5 separate regions of the Homo sapiens genome follow, and regions 1, 2, 3 and 5 are each linked to region 4. The links are contacts of gene promoters, found by promoter capture Hi-C in blood cells and fetal thymus (Javierre and others, 2016). All regions are on one chromosome and are shown on one strand. Each heading gives the region's core, a stretch centred on a gene start or on the middle of the fragment in contact. The rest is flanking DNA. Distances are from core to core; before and after follow the strand shown. Region 1 holds the start of FURIN (furin, paired basic amino acid cleaving enzyme). Region 2 overlaps ARPIN-AP3S2 (ARPIN-AP3S2 readthrough). Region 3 overlaps BLM (BLM RecQ like helicase). Region 4 holds the start of IQGAP1 (IQ motif containing GTPase activating protein 1). Region 5 overlaps BLM (BLM RecQ like helicase).

Region 1 (2,700 bases), core at 171-2,670, 480 kb after region 4:
AGTATGATCAACATGATTGATCCTTTCCTTGATTCAGCATTATCACCAACACGATGGAAAGTGATCTCAGATGTCATGAGGATGCATGATTGTTTGCCCTGATCACTAAACGGCCCATTGTTGTGCTGGCATACTGGGCAGTTTCAAGTTTGGGAGTTTTCTCCCTCACTGCTAGCTGTCTCAGAGCTTAGTTCCCAGCAGACAACTCTTGCTGCCTCGAACCCTGGCACACTAACCACCATCCTGTGACGTTCCCACTCCTCATTCTGCGACAGTGGTTCTTTGCTGGGAGAGATTTTTGTCTCCCAAGGGACATTTGGCAATACCTGGAGATCTTTTTGGTTGTCATCATGGGAGCGGGAATGCTACTAGCAGCTAATGTTTAGTGACTAGGGATGCGACTGAACATCCTGCAATGTAGAGTGCAGTGTCCCCTACAGAGAATTATCCGACCCAAGATGTTGATAATGCCAAGGTTGAGAAACCCTGTTCAGGATGACAAACTGATTGAAAACTCAACAAGGGGACCGGGCGTGGTGGCTCACGCCTAATAATCCCAGCACTTAGGGAGGCCGAGGTGGGTGTATCACTTAAGGTCAGGAGTGCGAGACCAGCCTGGCCAACATGGCAAAACCCCATCTCTACTAAAAATACAAAAAAAAAAAAAAAAAATACGAGTGGCGTAAGCCTGTAATCCCAGCTACTTGGGAGGCTGAAGCATGAGAATCGCCTGAACCCAGAAGGCAGAGGTTGCAGTGAGCTGTGATCAGGCCATTGCATTCCAGCCTGGGCAACAGAGCGAGACTCTTGTCTAGAAAAAAAAAAAACAAACCCATAAAACAAACAAACAAAAAAAACTATGAGGATTGAGTGATTCACATTTCTGAATCGAGAGAGAGAAGGATGGGCAGCAGGCTTGTTGAAGCTGGAAGGCCAGGGAGGTCGCAGACTGAGGAAGACCCTGGTGTGTCCCAGGTACCTCCATGCAACCCTACTAGAGAGGTGGTCTCTGGCTTCCTATGGACAAGCTCTAAGGGACCCAGCTATGGGGCACCAGAGCCCAGCGTTCAGCAGCTGCTCAATGAATGTCTGCCAGGCGAGACTGCACCCAAAGCATTTATTAGGTACATAATTGTGGCAGCACTGGCTGGCCATGGAAGGCAAGGCAGAACACAAGGAGCTGGAGCTGGCGGAAGGAAGTCATTAAGTCAGCCAGTGGCTGGGATGCAGCAAAGCCAGGCAGAAGGTAAGTGCAGACCCACCCCAATAAATGAGGAAAATGAGAAGGGCTGGCTGGCCATGTTAGGATCCAGTTCCAGTGCGACCAGATATGTCACCACCACATCACTTTTAGCTCCTCCCCCCACCCACAGACACCCTGTTTGCCTGTCATATAAAGAAGGTTTTCCCAAAGTGGTTTAGCCAGAACTGGAAGGGCCCCGCCCTGTGAAGGGATAGGAGCCTGACTGTTGCAGCTGCAGTGAGTGGCGGGGAAGCAGCAGCGGCCAGGATGAATCCCAGGTGCTCTGGAGCTGGATGGTGAAGTATGGACATGCTTTATTCGATTTTGCATTGACTTAAAGGTTTAATTATTTTAGGAGTTCTTGTAGACATTCCTGAAAAATGCAGGTAGGCAAAAAGAAGAAAACAAAGATCGCAAATGTGACCCTTTCATTCGGAGAGAACACCAATGGAATTTTGTTGTGCACCCTTCTATGCACGTCTGAATGTTGTGTAGACATTCTGCTTACAACTAGGTGTGGGTGCTGCTGCCGAAGGCTTTATTTGCTGTGCCTGAGGTGGACCAGAGATTTCAGAGAAGACTCCCAGAGCACCCCAAGGAGACAACAGGAGTGCTTGGAGTCAGGATGACTGGGTGGATTTAGGACTATGTGATTCTCAGGAGCCTCTCTGGATTAGCCCCAAATCAAGGATAAAGAGAGGCCTAGCTGGACTCTTCCTCCCAGAGCCCTGCTGGGAAAATGGAGCCCCTTTACAGCCCCCACTTACCCATCAGGCCCTGCTCCTCTCACTCATCTCCAGACTTCTGTCACATGCCCAAGTCCTGCTAACTGCTGTGTAAAACTGGTAAGGTGGGATCCAGAGGACCTTGGGCCCCTAGGGCCCCAGGTCAGGAGACCTGGGCTCCAGGGCCAGTTGAGAGTGATAAAGAGAACAATACCTGCCCACAGGACTTGTTGCAATGAGATAAAGGCAGAAGTCACCAGTTGTGGTCAAATGGGATTTTTTTCCAGAGAAGTCTCACAGAGAGTGGCTTTCAAATTCTTTTTAGCAGCAGAATTGTTGTAAAATACAATCTCATGTGAAACCCTAAAATGTGAGACACTCTGGGTGAAGCAGAGAGAGGTGCTCAACTGCCCAATCCTGTCCTCATTCCTCCCTCTCAGGGAGGCACCTCTGAGAACCCACTTTAAAGAATTTTGCCTTATGCAGATTGAAGAGGCAAGCTGGCTGGAAGAAACTGGGAAGCTCCACTTCCCACCGCCTCTGCCTGGGTGGCAGTCATCTGAGCCTAGGCTAGCCCCTCCCCCTCCAAAGACCCACTGCGGGCTCCCCTGGGGCCAGTCTCCAGGATGGGTGGGGCACCTGAAGCAGCAAGTATTGCTATTTTTCTGGGCTGACCTTTCTTCTAGGCCTGAGGACAAGTGGGTAGGTGGGGCCAGCCCTGTCCCTGTTTCC
Region 2 (2,700 bases), core at 26-2,525, 510 kb before region 4:
CATAAAAATATCTAACAGATATTAATGAGCTAAATGTAAAAAAATAAATTAAAAAAGCAACGGCAGATCCCCTGGGTGCCATCCAGGCCCCCGGAAGGAGCTATTCAGTCTGTGGCAAAGCTTTGAGGTGGCTGGTACTGCTAAAAGCGGCACGTGGAGGTGCCCCCTAGCGGCCTGAGCTCTGTTCTGCGGCAGCCAGAGCACATGCGAGGAGAGCCAGACCACAGTTTGCAGCAGCACCATCCCAAAAGGCTGTTTTCATTAAAGATGTTTCATGAAACTAAGACTGGGTTCTCAAGATAGGGTAGTTATCCAGGACAAGATGGACTAGCCCCAGAAAAAGACATCCCCAGATAGTGGGTGGAAAAAGAACTGTCAGATGCATCTGTTTTTCTTACTCAAAATATTATTCAAGATCACAATCAAGGTCAAGAGAAAGAAAACAAGAAAGAAAACGAAGGACGAAAACACAAAGCGCATGCTGATGGGCAAAGAGGCTGAACTGAAGACATTGCAGACTCAGGTAGGAAAATAATAAGCCTATTTCATGATGAGGCAAGAAGACAGGAATCCTACAACAAATCCTCTAAGAAATACACTTCTGAGGAGCATAATGACAAAGAACATTATTCTGATAAAGGAAGAGAGGGACTAAATTCATCTGAAAATGGGCTGGGCGCAGTGACTCACGTCTGTAGTCTCAGTACTTCGGAAGGCCAAGGTGGGCAAATTGCTTGGGCTCACAAGTTTGAGACCAGCTTGAGCAACATGGCAAAGCCCTGTCTCTATAAAAAACACAAAAGTTAGCCAGGCGTGGTGGTGTGTGCCTGTGATTCCAGCTACTCGGGAGGCTGTGGTGAGAAGCTTGAGCCGGGGAGACAGAGGTTACAGTGAGCTGTGATTGTGCCACTGCACTCCAGCCTGGGCAACAGAGTGACATGCTGTCTCAATAAATAAATACATTCATCTGAAAATGATGAGGACAGACACAAACACAAAGAAAGCCATCAAGAAGCAGAAGTCACTCAAGATACAGGTCTCGTGAAAGGCATCATCGTAGTAGAGGGAAAAGAAGTAGTCTCAATCCAGAAGCAGAGAGAAGAACGATCATGATCTAGAAGCAGGAAAAGAAAACCATGGGCTGGACATGGTGCTTCACACCTGTAATCCCAGCACTTTGGGAGGCCAAGTCAGGCAGATCACCTGAGATTCAGGAGTTTGAGACCAACCTGGCCAACATGGCAAAACCCTGTCTCTACTAAAAATGCAAAAATTAGCCAGGCGTGGTGATGCATGTCTGAGGTCCCAGCTACTTGGGAGGCTGAGGCAGGAGAATCACTTGAACCCAGGAGGTGGAGGTTTCAGTGAGCTGAGGTCACACCACTGCACTCCAGCCTGGCCAACAGAGTGAGACGCCGTCTCCAAAAAGGAAAGAAAAAAAAAAGAAAGAAAGAAAACCATGGATCAGATCTTGCTCCTGTTCAAGATAAAAACTACATCTGTGTTGCGTGTGAAAAATAAGTAAATAAATAAATATGACATGCATAGGAAAGAAGCAGAAGTAGTACAGGAAGCAGAAGACAAGAGAGAAAGAAGAGCATTGAGAAACTAAGATTTAGCAGAAGTTTAAGCCAGATTTCCAGTTCATCTCTCTTCAGAGGCAGAGGCACAGCAAAGGATGCATAAGAAGCTTTAGCTGGGAGGATGGACTAGGCAAAGAAATTACAAGAACAGCAAGAAAAAGAAATAGTTGGGATGGGTGTTGGGAAAAAATTTTTTAAAAGAAAAAGAAATCATTGAAAAACAAAAACAAGAAATAGCTCCAGTTACTAGAGATTTTGTTCTCAATGTTGCTGCCCTGTTGGCATCAGGAATGCCAGTAACTCAGATAGCTATGGCAGCTCAAATGGGAGCCCTGCAAGCAACAGCTTTGGCAGAGACAGAACAGCTGTACCTAGGGATTATGACACAGCAGCTGGAAATCCAGTGAAATTTGCTGAACAAGAGGAAAAAAGTCAAGGCAAGAAAAACTGGGCAAACTCCCCGTCTGCTGAACTATGACTTTGGGAAACAAGGACCAAAATGTCATATATATGGAAATTAGTGGGTATTAAGAGTGAAGATGAAGCTAGATGTAGCTCACTTGATGAAGAAAGTTAGAAGACTTTGAAGCAATAGGAAGTACTGTATTTAGAAATTTAGATGCTCAGTATGAAAAGGCAAGATCACAGACCCACACATAAAGAGGAACGGGATTGGGTTTCACATCTTCAACGTGAGAAATGGATGCAGTTTGAAAAAGATCATACTTTTAAGGTTTGGGAACTTATAGCCTTCTTGTTCTGATGTCAGGTCCTTGTTCCCAAAGAGCTAGTGTTCCAGTTTGTAGGGTGTTGCACTGGCTTTTCTTCCTCTCTCTTTTTTTAAGCTGTGGTAAAATACACGTAACATAAAATTTACCATCATAGCCATTTTTTAAGTGTACAATTCAGTAGCATTCGATAACGTTCATAATGTGCAACCATCACCACCATCCATGTTCATATCTCTATTTTATAAACCTGAAACATGGCCGGGCGCGGTGGCTCATGCCTGTAATCCCAGCACTTTGGGAGGGCGAGGCAGGTGGATCACTTGAGGCCAGGAGTTTAAGACCAGCCTGAGCAACATGGTGAAAACCCCCAGCTACTCAGGTGGCTG
Region 3 (2,700 bases), core at 98-2,597, 430 kb after region 4:
CTCACACAGAGCCGGAGACCTTAAAAGGCATCTGGCTCAACACCCAGGGTTTTTGAAGAGGAAGCTTAGGCCTGGCCTGGGGAGGGCTTATCGGAGGACAACCCTGCCTGGTCTCGATTTCAAAGGTAGAAGCGGACACTGGCCTGCCCACACCTGCCCAGAGCACGTTCACTTCTGCATGTTGCCTGTGGAGACTCCTAAAAAACACGCATGGTCTTCCATCTCATCTTTATGTATTAGAACAAAGCAAACCATATTGCTATTGGCTCCCTTATTTAATTTTCACAACTTTTGTTTGTAAGAGTGAAGCACTTTGCAGCATCATCTGGAACCTAATCTGATAAGAAGCAGTAAAGCTCACACTTGTACCCATTTCCATGCTTGTTTTCAGTGAGCCTGGGTGTTTAAGATGGGATTTGTTGTTGTTGTTGTCGTTATGGAGTTTTGCTCTTGTCACCCAGGCTGGAGTGCAGTGGCACCATCTTGGCTCACTGCAGCCTCTGCCTCCCGGGTTCAAGCTATTCTCCTGCCTCAGCCTCCCAAGTAGCTGGGATTATGGGTGCACGCCACCACGCTGGGCTAATTTTTGTATTTTTAGATGGGGTTTCACCATGTTGGCCAGGCTGGTCTCGAACTCCTGACCCCAGGTGATCTACCCACCTTGGCTCCCAAAGTGCTGGGATGACAGGCGTGAGCCACTGTGCCCAGCCAAGATGGGATTCTTTTTTAAGCCCTACCAGCTAAAGCCAGTGCACTGTGTGACTTTGTGTTACCCTTGGAGCAGCCTCTTTTTGCTCCACTCTCCTTTCCACCGACCCAGTGTGCTCCCCGGATTGAGAGTCCCTGTGCAGTGAAAGAATAAATGTGGCTCTCTGCCAGCAACCTCACCTCCCCACCCTACCCTCAGAGTTTCACATCTTCAGAACAACACACAATGAACCAGTTGTGTTCTGGGCTCTCTGAGTGGGAGTAAATGGATGGCCCAGGTGAAATGGAGGCTGCTGTTGGCCGATTCATTCTGTAAATCAACATAAACAGCAGGTTTTCTCTCTGGGCTTAATTTCTCAGCAGGAAATCAGCATAGGGAAACTTCAGGCTGCATCTCTGCCAGTCTAGCAGATCTCTGCCAGTTCTGCAGTAAAACTGCCTTGGAGCCAGAGTTTAAGTCATGGAGCTCCATCAGAATGTCATTACCCACAGGCTGTGGCCCTATACCCTCAATTCAGACGGGAGGCTACTTGTATGCCCTGGTGCCGTGGAATTAGTGTGGGGCCTGACATCAGCCGGTTACAGAGCAGCAGGAAAGGCTTCTGCGGGTAATGCTGCCCACAGCCATCACTGTAAACATGCCGGCCCCATGGTTTTGTTTGTTTTTATTTTACTTAAGGGTGGGAAGGGAGCTGTTATCTTAAGGTCTGCAAGGAAAGTGAGATGCTGGAAGGACTTGGTAATCGGCTCTGGCGGCTTCTTCCTTGGCTTTAGAAGGCAGCGAGTGGGAGGGAGAGCTGGCAGATCTCTGGGTGTAGGCAGGTGAGCCAGGGAGCTGCTGGACACGGTCCTAACAGAAGGCCGCATCTGCAGCCTTCCTGGGGCTTCCTGGGGCTGGCCAGGAAGACGCCCAGCTTTGCCACTCCTGGCCACCCAGCTCCACCCCATGCATGCTCACCCCACAGCTGCCTTGCTCTGGACTGTGCAAGTCCAGTCATTCCGGGGTGCCTGTCAGCAGGGAGCTGGGGCCTTACAGCAAGGTGTTTCACTTCTTTTATTTGGTCAGAATAGATGAGGACATGTGGACCTCAGCTCCTCTTGCAGGCTCTGGTTGTAGGCTGCCGAAGGTGTGGGTGGAGAGAGGGGCGGTGGGTTGGTCACAAGTCAGAAAATTAAGAAACAGTCCTGCACATTTCAGAAAGACAAATCCAGAACAAATTTATATGAAGGGCCGCGGTCCTTTATTCCATAAGTAGTAAAGGAAACTTACCTTACCTAGGGGGCTCGTAGGCAGAAAATGCACAAGGACACATTAGGCCCAGGGAAGTGGTATTGTAGCTCTGTGCAGGTTGAGAGGAAGGTCATTCATTTTTGGTTTCATTTAACATTTTGATTTTTTTCTTTGTCACATTTCAGGGGGTCTGCCACATGTAGAAAGATATCTTCCAAAACGAAATCCTCCAGCATCATTGGATCCAGTTCAGCCTCACATACTTCTCAAGCGACATCAGGAGCCAATAGCAAATTGGGGATTATGGCTCCACCGAAGCCTATAAATAGACCGTTTCTTAAGCCTTCATATGCATTCTCATAACAACCGAATCTCAATGTACATAGACCCTCTTTCTTGTTTGTCAGCATCTGACCATCTGTGACTATAAAGCTGTTATTCTTGTTATACCATTTGAAGTTTTTACTCGTCTCTATTAATATTTAAATAAATGCTGGGGGGTGATAGTTCTTCTTTTTAAAATAAACATTTTCTTTTGAATAAGCATGTTTTGCTGCCGCTGCAAGTGTTGTGGCCGTTGTTTCTCAGAACGTCTGAGGCAGCAGCTGAATCATCTCAGTGCAAGAGCTTCTGAGCATAACACGAAACCCAGAAGCCAAAGGAAGAGCCACGCGTGGGCCCTTGTGAAACTAAAGCTTTTCGTGTAAGACAACACAAACAAAATTTAAAGACAAATGACGGGGAAAAGAGGAGAAAATATA
Region 4 (2,700 bases), core at 139-2,638:
AAACGGAAGAGGGCCGGGCGCGGTGGCTCACACCTGTAATCTCAGCACTTTGGGAAGCAGAAGCGGGTGGATTACCTGAGGTCAGGAGTTCGAGACCAGCCTGATCAACATGGTGAAACCCTGCCTCTACTAAAAATACAAAAAAAGTAGTTGGGCGTGGTGGCGGGCACCTATAATCCCAGCTACTTGGGAGGCTGAGGCGGGAGAGTCGCTTGAACCCGGGAGGCGGAGGTTGCAGTGAGCCGAGATCGCGCCACTGCACTCCAGCCTGAACGACTGAGCAAAACTCCGTCTCAAAAAAAAAAAAAAAAAAAAAATGCCGGGCGCGGTGGCTCACGCCTGTAATCCCAGCACTGTGGGAGGCCGAGGCGGGTGGATCACGAGGTCAGGAGATCGAGACCATCCTGGCTAACACGGTGAAACCCCGTCTCTACTAAAAATACAAAAACTTAGCCGGGCGCGGTGGCGGGTGCCTGTAGACTCAGCTACTCGGGAGGCTGAGGCAGGAGAATGGCGCGAACCCGGGAGGCGGAGCTTGCAGTGAGCCCGGATCGCGCCACTGCACTCCAGCCTGGGCGACAGAGCGAGACTCCGTCTCAAAAAAAAAAGAAAATAAAAAAAAAGAAAGAAAGAAAAGAAAAAAGAATAAACAGAAGAGGGCTGCGGACAGAATACCGTTGAATACCAATATCTGAAGGGCAAGCCACAAGGTGCAGGGGGCAGAGGCATCCCTGATACGGGAAAAGAGTTATTTTAAAAAGAACTTGCAAAGAACAATGTCAAGGGATCCAAAGGTAGGGAATTTGGACAGAGTTCGGCTTTAGCATCCGCATCTCAAATACCTGGGTACCTGGGTAATCTGGTGACTGCTGCCGAATCTAAGAGGACTGAGGCCAGGTTGCCAAACTGCGGAGAGTGGGGTTGGAGGGCTTTCATGGCAGTTTGGGGCCTGCTTGTGTCCAACAAGACAACCTGGGTCACCTCAAAGGGTGTCTTCTCCAAATATTGGTGCAGAGGTTAGCTGGGCCGGCAAGAGAAGGGAGATGACCCACTATTTTGATTTCAGGCAGCAGACACCGGCAGCCTTTCGGTTAGAGTTGCGGATAGGGCAGTGGCCTTGGGGGCGGGGCTATAAACCTGGGCGGGCATTCCCGGCAGGGCAAGCTCAGCGTGAGCCCGATTGGAGGATGGGCTCTACCTTCTTCCTTCCGCCTACGGAGACCATAGCGGGATGCAGGGCGGGGCCGGGCTGAGGGGGCGGAGTTAGGGGCGGGGCACGGTGACTCTGGCCCCGCCTCTTTCCGGCCGCTCAGGGCGGTGTCGCTGGGGCGGTGCCGCTGGGGCGGGGCCTGCGGGGTGGGGCTGACGGCACGGGGCGGGGCCTCGGGGACCCCGGCAAGCCCGCGCACTTGGCAGGAGCTGTAGCTACCGCCGTCCGCGCCTCCAAGGTTTCACGGCTTCCTCAGCAGAGACTCGGGCTCGTCCGCCATGTCCGCCGCAGACGAGGTTGACGGGCTGGGCGTGGCCCGGCCGCACTATGGCTGTGAGTGCGGGGCTCCGCGGCGCGGGGGCTTCGGGCTGGGCTAATTGCAGACGAGGCGCGATTTTCCTGGGGGCTCGGCCGGGCGGGTGGGGCAGGGCGGCTGCCGGCAGCTCGGACCCGGAAGAGCCGTCCCGGTGGGGCGGCGGGCGGCGGGCGGGGAGGCCCCTGGTTCGCGCCCCCTCGGGGTCCGAGGCGGCGGAGAGGACCCCCGAGGCCTCCCGCCTTAGCTGGGGCCGCGGTAGGGGGAGCCCCACCCAGCGCCTCTCGCCGCCCAGGCTCGGCCGAGATTGGGGAAGACGGCCTAGAGTGAGGTGGCAGGATGACCGCGCAGGGCGTGTCCCGGGGATTGGGGGTCTGGGTACGCGGGCTCTGCCCGTTTCGTGGAAAGGCGCTGCCCTAGTGTTGCCTGCGGGGTAGACCCAAGGGATAGACCAGGGTCCAGACCTGTCCGGTCCCAGGCTAGCTACGAGGTGCCGTCCTGGGCAAGTCACTTCAGTTTTCTCGGGCTTAGTTCCCTCCTCAAGATTTCAAAAGTAAAATAGTAATAAAGAAAAAAAAAAGAAGCAGAAAATCCTCTGACTTCCTCATTTTCTGTTGTCGGCCCTGGACGTCATTGAACTGCAGGCAGGATTGGCTAAAGGAGGACCCTTTGGGATTTTGAGGTTTTCGGTTTTATTTTATATTGTGGGAATAATGTTCTTTTTTAAAGGATCAACATTTCACGCATCAACAGTTATACGTGAGGTATTGTGCCACGTTTGTGAAATTAAAGATGAGTAAGATCAGGCCCTGTCTCCAAAGAGCGTTTTAATCAGAGAGTCAGGTGTGCAAGCTAATGATTATAAGGTGCAATAATGATAAAAGATGCTGAACTTACTAGCCATACAGAGTAATGTAGGTAAGGAGAAGGGGCCTGGGGAAGACAGTATGAGCACGGGAGGTGACTTTTTTTTTTTTTTTTTTGGAGACAGGGGGTCTTGCTCTGGTCGCCCAGCCTGGAGTTCAGTGGTGCAATCTCAGCTCACTGCAAACTCCACCTCCCAGGTTCAAGCGATTCTCCTGCAGTCTCCCGAGTACAGGCGTCGGCCACCACACTGGCTAATTTTTGTATTTTTAGTAGAGACAGGGTTTCACTGTGTTGGTCAGGCTGGTCTCAA
Region 5 (2,700 bases), core at 6-2,505, 350 kb after region 4:
GATCTGCCCACCTCGGCCTCCCAAAATGCTGGGATTACAGATGTGAGCCACCATGCCTGGCCAATCAATACTTCTTAATGATGGTATTCTCTCTCTCTCTCTCTGTCTCTGTCTCTCACGCACACATACACACACACGCGCGCACGCACGCACACACACACACACACACGCAGAGAGAGAGAGAGAGAGAGAGAGAGAGAGAGAGAGACTTTATTCCTAAATCCTGTATTTTATCTAATAGGAAAATACTAGAGGCATTTTTACTAAGATTGAGAAAAATATAGAGATACTCACCAACTCCACTTGTATTTAACATTGTACTGGGGGCTTAGCCAATGCAGTTAGATAAATCAATTAGAGGCACAAGATTTGGAAAATAAAAAGTAATATTGTCCCTACTTGCAGGTGATATGGTAGTGTGTCTGGAATACTGCAGAAAATCAATAATGAAACTAACTAAACAGAAAAGGAATTTTATAAGAATATGCAAAAATCAGTAGTCTTCATATACACAACAAGTTTGAATATATAATGAAGGGTAAAATCCCATTTACAGCAACAAGAAAAAGAGAAAATATTTAGGAATTTAAAAACATGTAAAACCTAGGTGAAGAAATCTTTAAAACACTTCTGAATAACAAAAATAGCCTTAAACAAATGAAATCTTTTGTTCTAGGACAGGACAACAACATCATAAAAGTGCCTAAGTTAATATATATATATATATATATATATATATATATATATTTAAGTTAATACATATACCTAAGTTAATATATAAATTTAATGCAATCTCAATATAAATATCAACAGAGTTCTGGCACTAGACAAGTTGATTCTAAAGTTCATATAGAAAAATAAACATATAAGAATAGGAAAACAGAAGAGCTACAAAGAGAAAGTAGACTTCCAGATATTGTAACATGTTGCAAAGCTTCTATCATGATAATATTGTGGTATAGACCAATGGTATAGAATGGAAAGTCAATAATTAGTCTCCTAAACACATGAAGAATTTAGTGTATGATAAAGGTAGTTCTGAAATTATTAGGGCAGAGATGGACTCTTTATAAATAGTGCTGGGACAACTTGTTAGCCACTTGAAAAAACAAAATTATATCTATACTTTATATCAGACACAGGAATAAACTCCAAATGAACCAGAAATCTAATTTTTTTTAAATTACCTACTAGAAGAATACATAGATGAGTTTTCTGTAACCTGGATGTGGAGAAGGGCAATAAAAGAGGGGGAAAAATTGGCTACATTGAAAAGCAAATTCTTGATTACAAAAATGAAAAACACCATAAGCAAATTTAAAAGATAGATGAGAAACCAGGAAAAAAATCTGCAAAATACATTTTAAAGACCTACTATCCCTAGTCTAAATTGAGAGAAAAAAATACTAAAATTTGGTTAAAAAGGCAGAATACATGAGCAGATACAATTTTTTAAAAAGATTCAAAAACCATCCTTAAATATGTGAAGAAAATATTCAATTTCACCTAAACAGGAAGTGTAAATTTAAAGCTGCACTGAAATACCGTTTCTCACCTATCAGCTCTGCACTAATTAGAAAGCTTCACAAGAAGCCCCATTGGTGAGGCTGTGAGGAATGCAAACTTGTAAAACCTCCTTTGAGGGAGAAGTTGGCAATCCAGCAGACTACACATGCATTTGCCCTTTGACCCAGCCATTCCACTTGTAGAAATATTCCCTAAAGATACATTTTCTTTTCTTTCTTTCCTTTTTTTTTGAGACAGGGTCTTGCTTGTTGCCCAGGCTGAAGTGCAGTAGTGTGATCTTGGCTCACTGCAGCTCAAACTCCCAGGCTCAATTGATCCCACCTTGGCCTCTGGAGTAGCTGGGACCACAAGTGCATGCCACCACGCCTTACTAATTTAAAAATTTTTTTTATAGAGACGGAGTCTCACCATGTTGCCCAGGCTGGTCTTGAACTCCTGGACTCAAGCAATCCTGTCTCTGCCTCCCAAATTGCTGGGATGACAGGTGTGAGCCACCGTGCCCGGCCTTACGTTTTCAACAGTAGGGAAATATGAATGCACAAAGTTATTTGTTGCAGCATTATTTGTAATTGTAAAATATCAGGGAATACCTTAAATGTCCATACAGGAAATTTGTTGGTAAATATCTACACAATGGAGTACTGTACAGCTGTAAAGAAGAATGAGGAAAATCTTTGCAAACGGGTGTAGAGTGATTTCTAACATGAATGGAAAGCGTACATACAGTGTGCTATTTTTTATGTAAGAAAGAAGGGAAAATATGAGACTCTAATGTCTGCTTATTTTGCAAAAAGAAAAACAGGAAAGATAAATCAGAAATTATTGAAATTGATAACCCACAGGAAGTAGATGGCAAAGGATGGAGAGGGAAGAACACTTCTCTGTGGGGAAAAACAGTCTTTTATGTAGTTTTAACTTTTAGAACTATGTAAATGTTTTATATATTCAAAAATCAAATCCACAAGAACAGTACAAACACAAACTAATCTAATTCAAATGATGAATGTAATCACCCTGAAGGTGAGGTGGGACTGACCAATCAAGTAACTTTTGAATATAGTACTTTAATTATGTACCCTTAATCTGAAGAAAGAAATGCAACTGAATTTTGAACTCTTCTTAGTAGGTTTTTTTTTTTTAGTGACAGGAGTGTAGCAATTTGAAATTACTTCC

What was found. The method cuts DNA at HindIII sites, captures the fragments that hold promoters and counts their contacts. A CHiCAGO score of 5 or more calls a contact.
Region 1: a contact is called between the fragment with the promoter of FURIN here and the fragment with the promoter of IQGAP1 in region 4, in 1 of 17 cell types (fetal thymus). The highest score is 5.4, in fetal thymus.
Region 2: a fragment that was not itself captured here is called in contact with the fragment with the promoter of IQGAP1 in region 4 in 1 of 17 cell types (monocytes); the score reaches 5.4 in monocytes.
Region 3: a fragment that was not itself captured here is called in contact with the fragment with the promoter of IQGAP1 in region 4 in 2 of 17 cell types (monocytes and total B cells); the score reaches 5.4 in monocytes.
Region 5: a contact is called between a fragment that was not itself captured here and the fragment with the promoter of IQGAP1 in region 4, in 1 of 17 cell types (total B cells). The highest score is 6.4, in total B cells.

Annotation. Positions count from the first base shown.
Region 1 is chr15:90,867,168-90,869,867 of GRCh38, forward strand. FURIN (furin, paired basic amino acid cleaving enzyme) reads left to right here and starts at 1,421. Exons shown (of 16, transcript NM_002569.4): 1 at 1,421-1,544. RefSeq lists enhancers at 1,953-2,700, 2,395-2,444, 2,512-2,700, 2,545-2,654, 2,592-2,700. The HindIII fragment of the contact is 27,514 bases long and covers 1-2,700 here.
Region 2 is chr15:89,874,997-89,877,696 of GRCh38, forward strand. The region is part of intron 7 of ARPIN-AP3S2 (ARPIN-AP3S2 readthrough); the gene reads right to left. All of the region lies in intron 3 of AP3S2 (adaptor related protein complex 3 subunit sigma 2), which reads right to left. It also overlaps the pseudogene LOC100631255. Among named protein-coding and RNA genes, the nearest start is that of MIR5009, 7.7 kb to the right of the region's middle. The HindIII fragment of the contact is 826 bases long and covers 863-1,688 here.
Region 3 is chr15:90,812,978-90,815,677 of GRCh38, forward strand. It overlaps BLM (BLM RecQ like helicase), which reads left to right. Exons shown (of 22, transcript NM_000057.4): 22 at 2,125-2,700. The coding sequence ends at 2,302. Among named protein-coding and RNA genes, the nearest start is that of FURIN, 54 kb to the right of the region's middle. RefSeq lists a silencer at 1,700-1,809. The HindIII fragment of the contact is 2,570 bases long and covers 63-2,632 here.
Region 4 is chr15:90,386,854-90,389,553 of GRCh38, forward strand. IQGAP1 (IQ motif containing GTPase activating protein 1) reads left to right here and starts at 1,389. Exons shown (of 38, transcript NM_003870.4): 1 at 1,389-1,543. The coding sequence starts at 1,489. RefSeq lists a silencer at 1,113-1,892. The HindIII fragment of the contact is 8,546 bases long and covers 1-2,700 here.
Region 5 is chr15:90,734,526-90,737,225 of GRCh38, forward strand. The region is part of intron 1 of BLM (BLM RecQ like helicase); the gene reads left to right. Among named protein-coding and RNA genes, the nearest start is that of BLM, 19 kb to the left of the region's middle. The HindIII fragment of the contact is 647 bases long and covers 933-1,579 here.